2 separate regions of the Homo sapiens genome follow, and region 1 is linked to region 2. Evidence: promoter capture Hi-C in 16 types of primary human blood cells and fetal thymus (Javierre and others, 2016). All regions are on one chromosome and are shown on one strand. The core of a region is centred on a gene start or on the middle of the fragment in contact, and the rest is flanking DNA. Distances in the headings are between cores, read along the strand shown.

Evidence for each region. Contacts are between HindIII fragments. The CHiCAGO score rates a contact against its expected background, and 5 or more counts as called.
Region 1: a contact is called between the fragment with the promoter of CCNT2-AS1 here and the fragment with the promoter of DARS1-AS1 in region 2, in 3 of 17 cell types (total B cells, M2 macrophages and fetal thymus). The highest score is 5.4, in total B cells.

Annotation. Positions count from the first base shown.
Region 1 is chr2:134,917,258-134,919,957 of GRCh38, forward strand. CCNT2-AS1 (CCNT2 antisense RNA 1) reads right to left here and starts at 1,349. Exons shown (of 5, transcript NR_036549.1): 1 at 1,306-1,349. CCNT2 (cyclin T2) reads left to right here and starts at 1,565. Exons shown (of 9, transcript NM_058241.3): 1 at 1,565-1,755; 2 at 2,553-2,634. The coding sequence starts at 1,598. RefSeq lists enhancers at 475-524, 534-1,207, 1,285-1,444, 1,595-1,864, 2,075-2,164 and a silencer at 1,205-1,274. The HindIII fragment of the contact is 7,926 bases long and covers 1-2,700 here.
Region 2 is chr2:135,983,825-135,986,524 of GRCh38, forward strand. DARS1-AS1 (DARS1 antisense RNA 1) reads left to right here and starts at 1,352. Exons shown (of 4, transcript NR_110199.1): 1 at 1,352-1,692. It overlaps DARS1 (aspartyl-tRNA synthetase 1), which reads right to left and starts at 1,802. Exons shown (of 16, transcript NM_001349.4): 1 at 1,579-1,802. The coding sequence starts at 1,644. RefSeq lists a silencer at 1,439-1,498 and an enhancer at 1,549-1,648. The HindIII fragment of the contact is 7,953 bases long and covers 69-2,700 here.

The DNA of each region.
Region 1 (2,700 bases), core at 99-2,598, 1.1 Mb before region 2:
GGATTACAGCCGGGAAACACTGCACCTGGCCAAGGGTTTGCACTTTTAAAATGTTGCTTTAAATCAATCTATTCCAGAAATTGTAAGCAACATAAAACGTAAAGCAAGGGAAGTGAGTATGAAATAGCAACTGTTACAAAAACTGCCTACTATAATCAATATTCTTGTGCAATGCAGTATGCTGAGCGTGGGAGCCCCATAACAATCACTTGCCTCCATGGTCTTTGGCAAATAGATATTACTTTATTTTTTATTTTCGAGACAAGGTCTTGCACTATCGCCCAAGCTGGGGTGCAGCAGCGAGATCTAGCTCACCGCAGCCTCCACCTCCTGGGCTCAAGCCATCCTCCCACTTCAGCCTCGGGAGTAGCTGGGACTACAGGCGCGCCACCAAACCTGGCTAATTTTTGTATTTTTGGTAGAGACGGGGTATCGCCATGTTGCCCTTGCCCTCGAACTCCTGACCTCAAGTGATCGGCCCACTGGACCTCCCCAAGTGCTGAGATTACAGGCGTGAGCCACCGTGCCCGGCCTCCAAATAGTTAAGACTTTAAACTTAGAAACCCTATTCACAACACAAACTCCGAGTGAAGCTCAGTGGCATTTTCTTACAGGAAGAAATACAGGAGTTAATCAACAGGTATGTGGGATGTTCCCACATCAAATCCTAAAGATAAAATTTTAACTCAGTTCCTCCTGCACTATCTGATTCTCCCCAACCTTGTCTCGCAGAAACCACAGCGCAGCCTGAAAACACGCCCCGTCTAGATTCAACACCTCATTTAGAAATTCAATTTCTCGTTGCTAGTTGGATAGCGTTTGCCAAGTAATTTGAAAAAATAAAAATAAACCAAGTGGTCTGGGATTTAAACAAGATAATGTAGGGTGAAAAAAGCACTCAGGTGCGGACAGCCATGGAGCGTGACTTCCTGTGCACTCTTTCCCCGCCAGCTCAACGCCAGAGCCGCGCGCTAGGCGGAGACTGTTGGTGGCGGAGGCCGGAGTCGCACGCCTACGAGACTGCGCGGACCCGCCCAAAAGGAAAATGGAAGTAGTGGCGTGAGGCTGCGACAGTGAAGGTTATTTTTCTCTTTTTAAAGGGCCGCTAGACCTCCCGTCTAAAGGAAGCGCCCGACGGGCCTCCGAAGTACACGCCCAGGCCCCCACAGCGCAGCCGCCCGACCGCCTCTCTTCACACCGGCCAGAGTCCACCCTCTCCCACTTTCCCCTCCCCTCCCCTCCCCGCCCCTTCCCTCCCCACCCCTTCGCCCCGCCAACCCTAGACCCGGCATGCGCTGCGCCGACCTTTTCCTTCCGAGCCGACCTCTCCACCTTCGGCGCCTCCCAATGACAAGCGGCGCGGAGCATTGTGGTCCCGTGCGCAAGAGCGAGGCCGAGGGCAGAAAAAGAAAGCAAAAGACTAGGGCGAGTCGGTAGAGCGGGCCCCGCGCATGCGCAAGGGCGGAGGCGGTGGTGAAAAAGGGTGGTGCGTGGTCTACGGCGAGCGGAGTGGGGCGGGGTCGCGCGCCTTGGCGGGGAGTCCGCGAGCCAGGAGGGGCGGGGGGTGAATGAAGGAGCGGGCGGAGGAGGAAGTGTCATGGCGTCGGGCCGTGGAGCTTCTTCTCGCTGGTTCTTTACTCGGGAACAGCTGGAGAACACGCCGAGCCGCCGCTGCGGAGTGGAGGCGGATAAAGAGCTCTCGTGCCGCCAGCAGGCGGCCAACCTCATCCAGGAGATGGGACAGCGTCTCAATGTGTATCCTTTTCTGTTCGCCGCCGCTCACGCCCTGTTTCCCTTGCCCGGTCGCCGGGCCTGGTGCCCCGCGAACATGGCGCCGCCGGCCTCGGCCTTCGCTGGGCCTCGGCGCCGCGGTCAGGGAAGTAATGTTCCGGCTCGGGCAGTCGCGAGGGGTCAGCAGAGGAAGGGAGGAGGAGATAGGACCCCAGGAATGCGGGCCAGGAGCCTGCGTTGTGTAATCTGTTTGGGGCAGCGCGTGGTGGTGGCGGCGGGGGTTGGGAGTGTGGCTCAGGCGAAAGAGGAATTTTAGGGATTATTGCAGAAAAGGGGCGGCTCCCTGGACTTGTCCCTGACCCCGAAGGGTTTGAGAGGTAGGAGGGTTAGCGATGCTGAAAGGCCTAAGTGTTTGCCGCAGCCTTTCCCGGCTCTCGTCGCCGGCTTGATGGCGGCTCTCTTCTACCTTGGGAGCGTACTGGAGTTCTTTATGTTCTTGGCGTGGTTTTGTATGGGTGTGTGCGCGCGCGTTTCAACTGTTTCATTTTGAGTTTAGTTAGTCGTAGCCATTGATAAATAGTTCCAGGGCCCTCAGCGCTGTTAGAGTGAAAAGATCAGCAGTTCTTATTCCCATTTATTTGGCGTCAAGCCTATTCTCTTCCTGCCGCCCCACCCCCCGCGGGCATTTATTTCTTTATTTCCAGTTTGGGGTTTGGATTTGAATGGGAGGTATTGGAAAAGAACCTGGGAATTTTCCATCAAAATTGTTCTGGGAATGAGATCTTGCTTTTGTCAGATATTTCCTAAATATTACGTTCCAGCTCTCAGCTTACAATAAACACTGCGATTGTTTATATGCACAGGTTTTATATGCACCATTCTTTCACCAAATTCAACAAAAATGTAAGTACTAGTTGTCTGTTTTTACTGTCCGCAAATTTGAGGGTAAATCGATACGCAGAAAAAAAG
Region 2 (2,700 bases), core at 102-2,601:
AAGTACCACAGTTTTATTAACTTCCTATTACAGGAAGAAATGTTCAAAGAGAACCAACGTTTTGGGTAAGCTTTCTGAGCACCAGATGTCCACAGTTTTTAGAAACTGGAGATGCTGGGTATAAGCTAACTACAACTTTCCTTTTGTAAAACATCATCAAAAAATTCACCAGCTTCCTGTTTCTAAAAACCAGATTCAGGATACCAGGTTACAGGAGTTTGACACTGACAATATAATAATATCAAATTTCTTGTTACAGATTAGAGTTAGGAACAGGAAACAGAAGACCTAGGGTCCAATCTGTTAACAAAATATACTTATTAAATAGATAAGTGGCCTTTATTTCAATCTTACTTTACCTCTAAAATGATCTAAGATTCTTCTAGCTATAAAATGGCATAACTCTGCCACAATGTCTACCTTGTATCTAGACCTATACTATCTGTAAGGGTACACTGATAGTTTATGTAATTAAGCAGATTAAGAGTACACAAAAATAATTGCCCTAGTTTTTACAAGGTAACTTAAGATCTGTATGAAACAATTAAGTTTCTGTCACTTTACAGCTACCTGTTGGAATCCTCTCCTTTAGAGCAGGAGGGTGCTGGATTTTGTGTTTACACCAAAATAAAACCAGACATGTTTAAGGCGCTTACTGAACAATTTAAAGAAAAAGATAACCCTGGCCAGAGTAGAGAGATACAGTCACACAATGAAGCCTGAGGGCAACAGAAGGAGATTAAATTGTGTGAAGGACAAAAAAGTTGCATTCATAATTAGTACTATTAATATTTCAGTGACTCTTCCTCATTTAGTATTCTAAGATGACCTTACTTCTCATGTTGCTTACCACAAACTCAGAACTCCTTATAGAAAAATTAGGGAGCCAGACGGAAATTAAGGCTTAACAGTACTACAGCACACATAACTTGTAGGATGGTTTCAAACTTTGATTTCTGAAAAGCACCGAAGGATCACTGGGTGTTATGAATTATCCACGTGATTTGGGGTCACTTCACCTCAAATGCATTCTCGGTAACTCCTATTACCTACCTTACCGGGTCACTGAGAGGGAGAAAGTAAATAAAAATGACATGTGTTCTTTAAAGCTGTCACATGGGAAATGGTCATTAAACATATTGGCAGATGGTTTTGCTAAGTACTGTCATTACTTGCTAAAGCATTAGGAACACGAGGGCTGAGTACATATCGATTACTAGTGCTTATTAAAATTTTCCCAGGGATTGTGCATTACGTGCAGGACGTGCCTAACCCAGAGAGACTCAAGTGTGACGCCGCGCTCCTACTTCCGGGGCGGCTGGTTCTTCCCGTCCTCCCCACCCCGGGGACACGCTTCTAGTAGGCCAAACTCCCAGGTGACCCCCGCAAGAAACGCGGTCCGGAGAGGGTCTGGCCCCACTGCTGGGGCAAGGGCTCTAGGCGCCCGGACCCCACGCCCGCAGCCTGCGGAGAACGTGCCGACAAGGACCTGTAGGGCCCCACTCCCCCTCCTCCCTCCCTCGGCGCAGCCCGGCCCAGGGGTCTGTCCTCCCAGGCCCAGGAAAGGAGGAAACCCACTTCCGCCGCGTCCATGATCTCCCGCGGCTTCTCCTGACTCTTGCGGCTGGCGCTGGCGCTGGGCATCGGGACACGGAACTGGGCAGTGGACACCACCCTCCCTCGCAGGCTTCCGTAAGGCAGGCCAAAGGGGCTTCTCCCTCCCTCCCAGTCTCCGCCCTCCCGACCCTGGGGTCTCAGCACACGCGCTCGGACTCCGCGTGGAGGTGCGGCTCCAGAAAGATCGCGAGAGCTGCGGCTATCTCGAGATCCCGGAGCGCTGGCGGCCGCGCGCAGGGTCTCCTCCCACTCTTGCCCCGCCCCTCCGGGAGTTTTCCCGGAGTTGGAGGGAATTCCCGGGAATTCGCGGTAGTTTCGCTGGATTGGCTCTGGGGGCGGGGGCAGGGGTTACCAGGTGGCTGGCTGTAGACCTGGGCGAATGCCAGCTCTCTTCAGCTTCGTCCCAACTGCGACTTCTGCTCCATTCTTCTAACAGCCCTTTCAACTCCGCTCGGCTGTAACCGCAGACTCGTCACTAAAACACCCACCTAAGCGCGGGCCTTGGTTTCTCCTCTCTTGGACTTTCCCGCCTTCTCTCTTCCCCTGGGCGACGTAGCTGCTTGGGGACGGAGGAGGCCTCTTCGCAATCCATTGCCCTGCTTGTTGGGACAGAGGAGTGCAGTTGGCTTGCCAAGGCAGCATGGGTTACCAGTCCCTGTGTAAGTGAGGTGTAAATACAGTGGCAACGACAACAAGAAACGCATACAATTGCATTGATTGCCTGGATCTGTTGCAGTGTTAGGGACAGTGCATAGTGTTGGTTGCCCAATGGGCGAATATCCCCAAGTTAGGCTTTTTTAAAAAACTGATTTTTTAAAAAAGCTATCATTCATGAGTTTTGAATCGAAATTGAAAATAATTTGGAGATTTGGTTTAATACTGTTTCCCCTGCCAGAGTTTGCACTCCGTCGTTTCAACTGACTTGGTAGTGTCTTAGTCTGGCACAAAGTGTTAAGGGGTGCACATAGATCCCAGCGCAAGTGAAAGGCTCTCTCTGGAGGCTCCCCCATGGAGTAGTGAGAAGACAGCCATGGTCCTTGCTTGCCTGTAGCTTTCCTTCTAATTGCAGGTGGTATGAAATTT